Linked DNA regions of Homo sapiens: region 1 is linked to region 2. The links are contacts of gene promoters, found by promoter capture Hi-C in human tissues and cell types (Jung and others, 2019). All regions are on one chromosome and are shown on one strand. The core of a region is centred on a gene start or on the middle of the fragment in contact, and the rest is flanking DNA. Distances in the headings are between cores, read along the strand shown. Region 1 holds the start of IFI30 (IFI30 lysosomal thiol reductase). Region 2 holds the start of INSL3 (insulin like 3).

Evidence for each region. Contacts are between HindIII fragments. The study calls those that stand out against the background at their distance.
Region 1: the fragment with the promoter of IFI30 here is called in contact with the fragment with the promoter of INSL3 in region 2 in 1 of the 25 tissues and cell types used here (stomach).

Annotation. Positions count from the first base shown.
Region 1 is chr19:18,170,354-18,176,593 of GRCh38, forward strand. It overlaps IFI30 (IFI30 lysosomal thiol reductase), which reads left to right and starts at 3,460. Exons shown (of 7, transcript NM_006332.5): 1 at 3,460-3,620; 2 at 4,687-4,869; 3 at 4,958-5,032; 4 at 5,252-5,344. The coding sequence starts at 3,489. It overlaps PIK3R2 (phosphoinositide-3-kinase regulatory subunit 2), which reads left to right. Exons shown (of 16, transcript NM_005027.4): 16 at 1-179. RefSeq lists enhancers at 558-777, 3,825-3,894, 4,022-4,687 and a silencer at 3,205-3,514. The HindIII fragment of the contact is 16,563 bases long and covers 1-6,240 here.
Region 2 is chr19:17,820,269-17,823,792 of GRCh38, forward strand. INSL3 (insulin like 3) reads right to left here and starts at 1,251. Exons shown (of 2, transcript NM_005543.4): 1 at 1,049-1,251. The coding sequence starts at 1,238. The HindIII fragment of the contact is 21,957 bases long and covers 1-3,524 here.

The sequences.
Region 1 (6,240 bases), core at 2,210-4,709, 350 kb after region 2:
TCATGTTGGGTTTTGATTCTGTTTTTCCTTGACTGCAAAACCCTCTTTCCTCTCCTCTTTTGGGACAAGAGCCCTGGTTTTCTACGCTGCCCTTGGCCACCACACTGCCTGCCCCACGAGCTGGGAGGCAGGTTTTGTACGGTACGTTGTTATTGATATGATATAAAACATCAAACGTCGTGGGTGATTCTGTTGTCAGTGACTGGGCTTCAGTACCACCTCTGCGTGTCGGGGACCCTGGTGTCTACGGGGGTCACAGCAGGTCGGACCCGTGGGTTTAACTCCAAGCCCCTCTGAGACCCGACAACCCCTCCCTCCCCCAGTTTAGCTGCTCAAGCCTGGAGAGGTTGAGGCAGTGCCCAAGGTCATACAGGAGAGAGATTCGAATCCTGAGCTCCCGACTGCTCAGGGGACCCCAGACCCCATCCAGCCCCTCAAGTGCTTCCAAGCTGCTTCCCCCGCCCACCGCCCCCAAATTTGAATCCTGTCGCAACCATCAGCTGTGTCCTTGGGAAAGTTGTATCCCCTCCCTGATCCACAGCTTCCTCATTCATTGCCAAGTGGCGTCAAAAGTCAAAACCCTCCCATGCCACAGGGAGGAGTCTCCCGTGTCTTTGATGTTCTCAAGTCGTCGGCACCTCCAGCCAGCATTGGAGGCTCTTCTCTGACCTCTCCTCACCCACTCCCATGCACAGCCCGCCGGGTCCCAGGAGACGCTGAGCAAAAGCCCTGTGGGGTTTTTTGTGTTTCTTTTTAAAGAGTCAAGGTCTCTCACTCTGTCACCCAGGCTGGAGTGCAGTTGTGCGAACACAGCTCGCGGCTCACAGCCTCAAGCTCCTGGTTCCCAGCCTCAAGCAGTCCTCTCATCTCAGCCTTTAGAGTCACTGGATTACGGGTGTGTGTCACCATGTCCAGCTAATTATTTTTAAATTTTTTTAGAAACAAGATCTTGCCGAGTGCAGTGGCTCACACCTGTAATTCCAGCACTTGGGGAAGCCAAGGCAGGCAGATCACTTGAGGTCAGGAGTTTGAGACCAGCCTGGCCAACATGGTAAAACCTGGTCTCCACTAAAAATACAAAAAAAAATTAGCCAGACATGGTGGCGCATGCCTGTAATCCCAGCTACTTGGGAGGCTGAGATAGGAAGATCAGATGAACCTGGGAGGTCAACGCTGCACCAAGCCAAGATCGTGCCACTGTTCTCCAGCCTGGGTGACAGAGTGAGACTCTGTCTCAAGAAAAAAAAAAAAAAAAAGGGTCTTGCCCTTTTCCAGGTGGGTCTCAAACTCCTGGCCTCTAGTGATCCTCCCACCTCAGCCTCCCTGAGTCGCGTAAGCCACCACGCGTGGCCTCATGGCGTCTTTGACTTGGACTCCTGTTTACCACCCTCCCCATCACACCCAGAATCCACACCCCCACTGCGACGTCATTGTCCCTTCAGCCCTCCCCAACCCTGGGGCCTCACTGTCCTTGTCTGTTTTGTACAGCCACCTCTCAAGGCCCAACAAGGCTGAACCTGGGGCAAGTGCAGAAAGAAACCTCCACTCTGACCCAGTCTACTGCTGGGACCTTGGGACAGGACCTGCCTCCCTTAGCCTCAGAGCCCCCTAGCCTTGCCAGGCACTGTCCCTGCCATGTGTCCTGTCTGGAGATAACCCATAAATAACTCCAGCCCAGATTGTGCCTCTCACTGCATAGGTGCTCACAGGAGAAAGGTTGCCATCTTTATGATCCCAGCTATGCTGAGCTGGGGGTGGAAGAGAATATCCCGTGTGGTCTCTAAAAACACTCAACCACTGGCTGTGTGTCCTTGGCAAAATAGCCTTCCCTCTCTGATCAGCCATTTATTTGTTACCAGCTGGAGTCAGTAGCACCTACCCCCAGCCCCAACTGGATGCTTCTGAGGGTTCAATGATAAAATGGGTTGTAGGCCCACTCTATGCCTGGCACCAAGCCAGAGAGCAATACATTGTAGGGTTACATTTATGATTTCTTCCAATAGGGCTGGTGCCTGGTAACTACTGGAAAAATTGTAGCAATTATATTTATGGTTATTTCTTCAATCCCACCCGGCATAGGGTAAGCACCAAAGTTGGGGTGGTGAGTCTTGGGGAGCCTTTGCCAACGGTTTGGTCGTCTGAGGGATGGGCTCGGGGACCATCCAGCCACTGGGACTTCAGAGAAGCTCCGGCTCCCAAACCAGCTACTGTGTGTGTGGCCAGGGTCTTCCCCACAACTAGAGGGGGGCACAGCTGGGGACTCAGGTATATCTTCCAGCTGGGTGTGGGACATTTTCTTCCCTAGGATCCGATGTGTCTTGCCCTGAATGTAAGGCCTGGCAGGGTTGGAATGTCTCAGTTATTCCCCCAACACTCCAGCCTCCATCTGGGCCTTTTTTCCAGGCTATTCTCTCTGCCTTCACTGTTGGGGCCACTGTCCTGTGTAGGCACCAAGGCCTGACCATGCCATCCAGAAGCCCCAGCCTGGGACAACTCTCCCCCACCTGCCTCTGAGCCCTCCATGGTGACTCTTGTTCCCCAAACCTTATCCTTCTCCCCATTACACAGAAGGGAAAGCTGAGGCTCTGTCACTCAAATCCAAAGCCAGGTGGACTCCAAGCCACCCCACCCCTATCCCAGACAGCACAGGCTGCCTCTCTCCCCCATGGGCGTCCCTTGAAGGCCAGGTTGCCCCCCACCCCCCACAAGCCTTGAACGATGAAAAGAAGGAAGGCCAGTTCTCTTCACCCCAAGCCAGAAGTGGGGCTGGGTGGGTACCCTAGAGAAATGACACGCCACTCCCTGCGCCAGCTTCTGCTTTCCGGCGTGGCTGTGGTCAAGCCTGAGTCAGTCCCACGGGACCACGGTGAGGGGTCTGGAGCGTCGGGGTCAGGAGTTTGAGGGGGGAAGGGTTGAGGGGCAGGATGTGGGGGTTGGGTGTGAGGGAGGTCACGGGCGAGACTGGAGGGAGGAGACCTGGCCACACAGGCCTTGCCCACTCTCGGGGGCCTGAATATTTCAGTTACTCCCCCAAAACCCCGGCCTCCATCCCATCCCCAGCCTCCATCCGACGTCACCCCTGTTAGGTCACAGGCCCACTCTGAGAGTGGGTCTCGGGCCTCAAGTCCCCTAGCCGCCCCTAGAAGGTCTAGGGGTGCGTGGAGACACCACCATTCCTCTCAGCCTGTGTCTGTCTCAAAGGCCCCACCTCACCTCCCCTAAAGGTAGTCTTGCGCCAGGGCTCACGTGCCTGGGCAGGGCTGATTGCCAAGGGGCCCAATGGCCTCGTGACTGGGGACCCAGCACCTGGCAGGGGTGGGGGTGGGACACTCAGAGGAAGGAGTGGAGGAGGGAGAGACGCTGGCCCGGGACCCGAGGGGCGTGGGCATCGGGAGGCGGGCCCGGGTTAGGGGCGGGACCGCCGCCTGGTTAAAGGCGCTTATTTCCCAGGCAGCCGCTGCAGTCGCCACACCTTTGCCCCTGCTGCGATGACCCTGTCGCCACTTCTGCTGTTCCTGCCACCGCTGCTGCTGCTGCTGGACGTCCCCACGGCGGCGGTGCAGGCGTCCCCTCTGCAAGCGTTAGACTTCTTTGGGAATGGGCCACCAGTTAACTACAAGGTAGGGACGGCGACAGGGCGGGCAGGCTGGAGGGAACAGGCGCCCTGTCGGGGCACGCGGCTCCTTCTTTCTCCCCAGACTTCACAGGGGAAGACCAGGGCCCCGAGGGGACGCTGTCCCTGCCGGGTTCCTGGAAAAACCCTGTTCAGTTCCCGGCGCTGCGGCCACACTCCCTCCGTGCCGTTTCGCTTTCGCATCCCGCATCTGAGAGGCGCAGCTGCCTCCACCCGCCTAGTCCCGCCCAAGGGTTCAATGAGCGCCTACTGTGTACTTTTGGGGCAGGAGCTGGGGTCTCCTTTTGTGGCCCAGGGCACAAGTTCAGCAGCTGGCCAAGGGCCGCCGGCATGCATTCTTGCTGCTACCCTTGATGCATTCATTCCAGCCAGGGCAGGGCTCGCGTGTCTTTGGGACCTATTAGGCAGATGCCCTAGAGGCTGAGCGACTTGCTCACCGCTCCAGCGACATGGGCCACCCGCCACCCCTCAGCTGAAGCCGGAAGTCAGCACCTATTAGGTGCCGCCTCTATTCAGTCGGACTTGGAAAGGGTTCACGTGGATCCCTTGCTCAGCTCAGAGGCAAGGTCTCCAGGTGAAGTGACAAGAAATGAGCATGGGCCAAGGCCGGAGGCGGTGGCTCATGCCTGTAATCCCAACACTTTGGAAGTCTGAGGCAGGCAGATCACGAGGTCAGGAGTTCGAGACCATTCTGGCCTACATGGAGAAACCCTGTCTCTACTAAAAATACAAAAATTAGCTGGGTGTGGTGGCATGTGCCTATAATCCCAGCTACTCAGGAGGCTGAGGCAGGACAATTGCTTGAACCAGGGAGTCGGGTGTTGCAGTGAGCCGAGATCGTGCCGCAGCACACCAGCCTAGCGACAGTGAGACTCCATCTCAAAAAAAAAAAAAAAAGTCTCAAAGTCAAGATTCCACCTGGCAAGTTCTGGAAGGCGTGCAAGATGAATTGCGTATCACAGCCCCCTTTCTACAAGACTACCAAGTGGGGTTGAGAGAAGTGGGGAACTGCCCAGGGCTACACCTGCCTCCCACGCCTTCCTAATCCACAGACAGGCAATCTATACCTGCGGGGGCCCCTGAAGAAGTCCAATGCACCGCTTGTCAATGTGACCCTCTACTATGAAGCACTGTGCGGTGGCTGCCGAGCCTTCCTGATCCGGGAGCTCTTCCCAACATGGCTGTTGGTCATGGAGATCCTCAATGTCACGCTGGTGCCCTACGGAAACGCACAGGTGTGTGGGCGCTGGGGAAACTGAGGCACGTGGGCAGGGGAGCAGGGGACCCAGCCTACCAGCAGGCTCTCACCCTGCTGCCTTGCAGGAACAAAATGTCAGTGGCAGGTGGGAGTTCAAGTGCCAGCATGGAGAAGAGGAGTGCAAATTCAACAAGGTGGAGGTGAGCGGCCCCAGGGCCCCACACTGGGGTGGGGGAAAACTGTCCCACGTACAGGAGGCAAATACGAGGATGCCAGCTCTGTCTTCTGCCTCGTGTGCTCCCATTTAATCACATCTTTATTCCCTATCTCCTGGGTGGGTACTGGTGATTATTACGAGAGGGTGTCAGGGTACCCTAGGCCCTCTTCATGCCCTCTCCTGCCCCCTCTCCAAACCCCAGGCCTGCGTGTTGGATGAACTTGACATGGAGCTAGCCTTCCTGACCATTGTCTGCATGGAAGAGTTTGAGGACATGGAGAGAAGTCTGCCACTAGTGAGTGACGCCCCTCACTCCACCCAAGGAGGGGGACATGGGTGGTAACCTTCCCTGCATCCAGGCAGACCCAAATTCAAGTCCTAGCCCTGACCACTGCTGTCTGTGCAGCCCAGGAAAACAACTACCCTTCTTTATTTTATTTATTTTTTTATTTTTTCTTGAGACAGAGTCTCGCTCTGTCGCCCAGGCTGGAATGCAGTGGCGCAATCCCAGCTCACTGCAACCTCCACCTCCAGGGTTCAAGTGATTCTCCAGCCTCAGCCTCCTGAGTAGCTGGGATTACAGTTGTGTGCCACCATGCCCAGCTAATTTTTGTGTTTTTAGTAGAGACAGGGTTTCACCATGTTGGTCAGGCTTGTCTTGAACTCCTGACCTTGTGATCCGCCTGCCTTGGCCTCCCAAAGTGCTGGGATTACAGGCGTGAGCCACCGCACCCAGCCCTTTTTTTTTTTTTTTTTTTTTTTTTTTTTTTGAGACAGGGTTTTGCTCTGTCGCCCAGGCTGGAGTGCAGTGGTGCAATCTTGGCTGACTGCAACCACTGTCTCCTCAGTTTAAGTGATCCTCCTGCCTCAGCTTCCCCAGTAGCTGGGACTACAGGTGTGCACCACCATGCCCGGCTAATTTTTGTATTTTTAGTAGAGACAGTGTTCACCATGTTGGCCAGGCTGGTCTCAAACTCCTGACCTCAAGTTATCCGCCTGTCCCAGCCTCCCAAAGGATTACAGGTGTAAGCCACCACGCCCGGCCCCAGCCTCCCCTCTTGAAGCCTCCATCTCTGAATCAGGGGAATGAATGCAGGTCTCTTAGGAGCATGAGTGATCACAGAGGACTTACTGGAGGAGGCATTTCTGAGCTGGGCATGGAAGGATGAGCAGGAATGTGCAGAGACACAG
Region 2 (3,524 bases), core at 1-2,500:
GCGAGGCTATGTCTCAAAATAAATAAATAAAAATAAAATAATAAAATAAAGTAACATAATTGTGAAAAGCAATACTTTTCAAAAGCAATACTTTTAAATACTTTTAAAGCTGGACACAGTGACTCACATCGCTAATCCCAACACTTTGGAAGGTCAAGGTGGGAGGATTACTTGAGCTCAGGAGTTTGAGACCAGCCTGGGAAACAGAGTGAGACTCCCTCTCTACGAAAAAGAAAAAAAAATTAGCTGGGTGTGGTGGCAGCACCTGTATCCCAGCCACTCCAGAGGCTGAGGCAGGAGGATGGTTTGAGCCCAGGAGGTTGAGCCTGCAGTGAGCCGAGATCTCACCACTGCACTCCAGCCTGGGCGTCAGAGTGAGACCCTGTCTCAAAAAACAAACAAACAAAGCAAAATTAAGGCAAAAATTCATGAAGATCAAAATATTGAAATTTTAAGACAGGATCTCACCATGTACTTGCAAGAGCCTACCTCTCCTGCCTCACTCTGTTTCTGGCCCCTCAGGGGGACTCATGCTCTGAGGACTTTCTTTTTTTTTTTTTTTTGAGACGGAGTTTCACTCTGTCGCCCAGGCTGGAGTGCAATGGCATGATATCGGCCCACTGCAACCTCTGCCTTCCGGGTTCAAGCGATTCTCCTGCCTTGGCCTCCCAAGTAGCTGGGATTACAGATGTGCATCATTATCCCCGGCTAATTTTTTTAAAAATTATTTTTAGTAGAGATGGGGTTTCACCATTTTGGCCAGGCTGGTCTCGAACTCCTGACCTCTGGGGATCCACCCGCCTCAGCCTCCCAAAGTGCTGGGATTGCAGGCGTGAGCCACCACGCCTGGCTAACGGCTCTGGGGACTTTCACACGCGCGTTCACACACACTCCAGTGCGGACCCACGATCTGTGCACGCAGCCGGCAGGTGAGCCCTGGGCACATGCATGCAAACCTGCCCACCTCCCTGCACGTGTGCATCTGCGCCTACGTGCACCTGCCCCACCTCGGCTTCCCAGAGCGCTGTCCCTGCCCGTCCCCACTCACGGTCGCCTCCGGTCGCAGGCCTCCTGGCTTCGGTGGACCAGCGGGGGCCCCCGCACACGCGCACTAGCGCGCGTACGAAGTGGTGGCCGCACAACTTCTCACGCATCTCTGGGGTGGGCGCGGGGCCCAACGCGAACACCAGGGCAGGGCCCAGCAGCACCAGCGCCCAGGCGGGCAGACGGGGGTCCATGGTGGTGGGTGGCGCCGGGGCCAAGCGGGGACCCCCTTTATAGGCGCCTGGGCCGTCCCAGCTGGGGGCCTTGGAGAAGGGACAGAACATTCTTCAGGACCGCCCAGGAAAAAGGTCAAGGGTGGGGTTAGTGCCAGAGCCTTTCTCCCAGGGCCAGGGCCTTGGATGTACTTCTCCCAGAGGGAGCACTGGGCAACGAGTCTTTCTTTTTTATTTTTTTCTTCTTTTTTTTTGAGATGGAGTCTCACTCTGTCACCCAGGTTGGAGTGCAGTGACTTGATCTCGGCTCACTGCAACTTCTGACACCCGGGTTCAAGCGATTCTCCTGCCTCAGCCTCCTGAGTAGCTGGGATTACAGGTGCGCACCACTATGCCTGGCTAATTTTTTTTTTTTTATTTTTTATTTTTAGTAGAGACTGGGGTTCGCCATGTTGGCCAGGCTGGTCTCCAACTCCTGACCTCAAGCGATCCATCTGCCTCGGCCTCCCAAAATGCTGGGATTACAGGCATGAGCTGTGCCTGGACTATTATTATTTTTATTATTATTATTGAGACAAAGTCTTGCTCTGTCTTCCAGGCTGGAGTGCAGTGATGCGATCTCGGCTCACTGCAACCTCCACCTCCTGGGTTCAAGTGATTCTCCCACCTCAGCCTCCCAAGTAGCTGGGATTACAGGTGTAAGCCACCACGCCCAGCCACCTATTTTTATTTTTTATTTTTGAGATGAGTTCTTGCTCTGTTACCCTGGCTGGAGTGCAGTGGCACGATATGGGCTCACTGCCACCTCCCTATCCCTGACTCAAGCAATTCTCCCACCTCAGCCTCCTGAGTAGCTGGGACTACAGGCCCACGCCACCACACCCGGCTAATTTTTTGTATTTTTTTTGTAGAGATGGGGTTTTGCCATGTTGCCCAGGCTGGTCTCAAACTCCTGGACTCAAGTCATCTTCCCGCCTCAGCCTCCCAAAGTCCTGGGATCACAGGCGAGAGCGACCACACCAGGGTATTTATTCATTTTTGACATAGGATCTCTCTGGGTTGGCCTGTAATGGCAGGATCATAGCTCACTGTAACCTCATTCCCCTGGGCTCAAGCGATCCTTCAGCCTCTGCCTCCTGAGTAGCTGGGACTACAGGCCTGCAATACAATGCCCAGCTAATTTTTAATTTTTTAATTTTTATTTTTATCTTTTTAGACAGAGTCTTACTCTGTCACCCAGGCTGGAGTACAGTGGTGCGATCTCGACTCACTGCAACCTTTGCTTCCTGGGTTCAAGCGATTCTCCTGCCTCAGCCTCCTGAGTAGCTGGGATTACAGGTGCCCACCACCAAGCCTGGCTAATTTTTGTATTTTTTAGCAGAGACGGGGTTTCACCATGTTGGCCAGGCTGATCTCAAACTCCTGACCTCAAGTGATCCACCCGCCTCGGCCTCCCAAAGTGCTGGGATTACAGGCGTGCACCAACGCGCCCGGCCATTTTTAATTTTTTAATTGTAGAGGCAGGGGTCTTGCTATGTTGCCCAGGCTCATCTAGAACTCAAGTGGTTCTCCCTACTCGGCCTTCCAAAATGCTGGGATTACAGGTGTGAGGCACCACACACGGCCAAGTCTTCGCTATTGTCTTAACCAGTTTAAAGAGATGAAATAGATCAACTGAAAAGTAATAATCCTGCCTTTTCTGGGGGGCAGGGGGGAAGACAGCGGGCATCTTCCAAGACCAGAAATGTTCAGAATTTTGTTGTTTCTATTACTGTACAAATGAGAAAACTGAGGCACACAGGCCAGGTGCAGTGGCTCATGCCTGTAATGCAAGCACTTTGGGAAGATGGGGCAGGTGGATCACTTGAGGTCAAGAGTTCGAGACCAGCCTGCCCAATATGGTGAAACTCTGTCTCTACTAAAAATACAAAAATTAGCCAGATGTGGTGGTGCATGCCTATAATCCCAGCTACTCGGGAGGCTGAGGCAGGAGAATCACTTGAACCCAGGAGGTGGAGATTGCAGTGAGCCGAGATGGTGCCGCTGCACACCAGCCTGGGGACAGAGACTCCGTCCCCTCACCAGACAAAAAGAAAGAAAAGAAAAGAAAAAAAGAAAACTGAGGCACAGAGAAAGGACCCCAAACTTGCCCAAGGTCACAGGAGGCTGAGCAGAGCCCAGGTCTTCTCAAGGCGCCTGACACGCAGGGCTGGGGGTGTCCCATCCGAAGCTCTGTCTCCCCAACACGGTTGTCCCCTCTGGGTGAGCAGGGGCTGGTGGACCCAGAATAGAGCAGGATTTATTTGT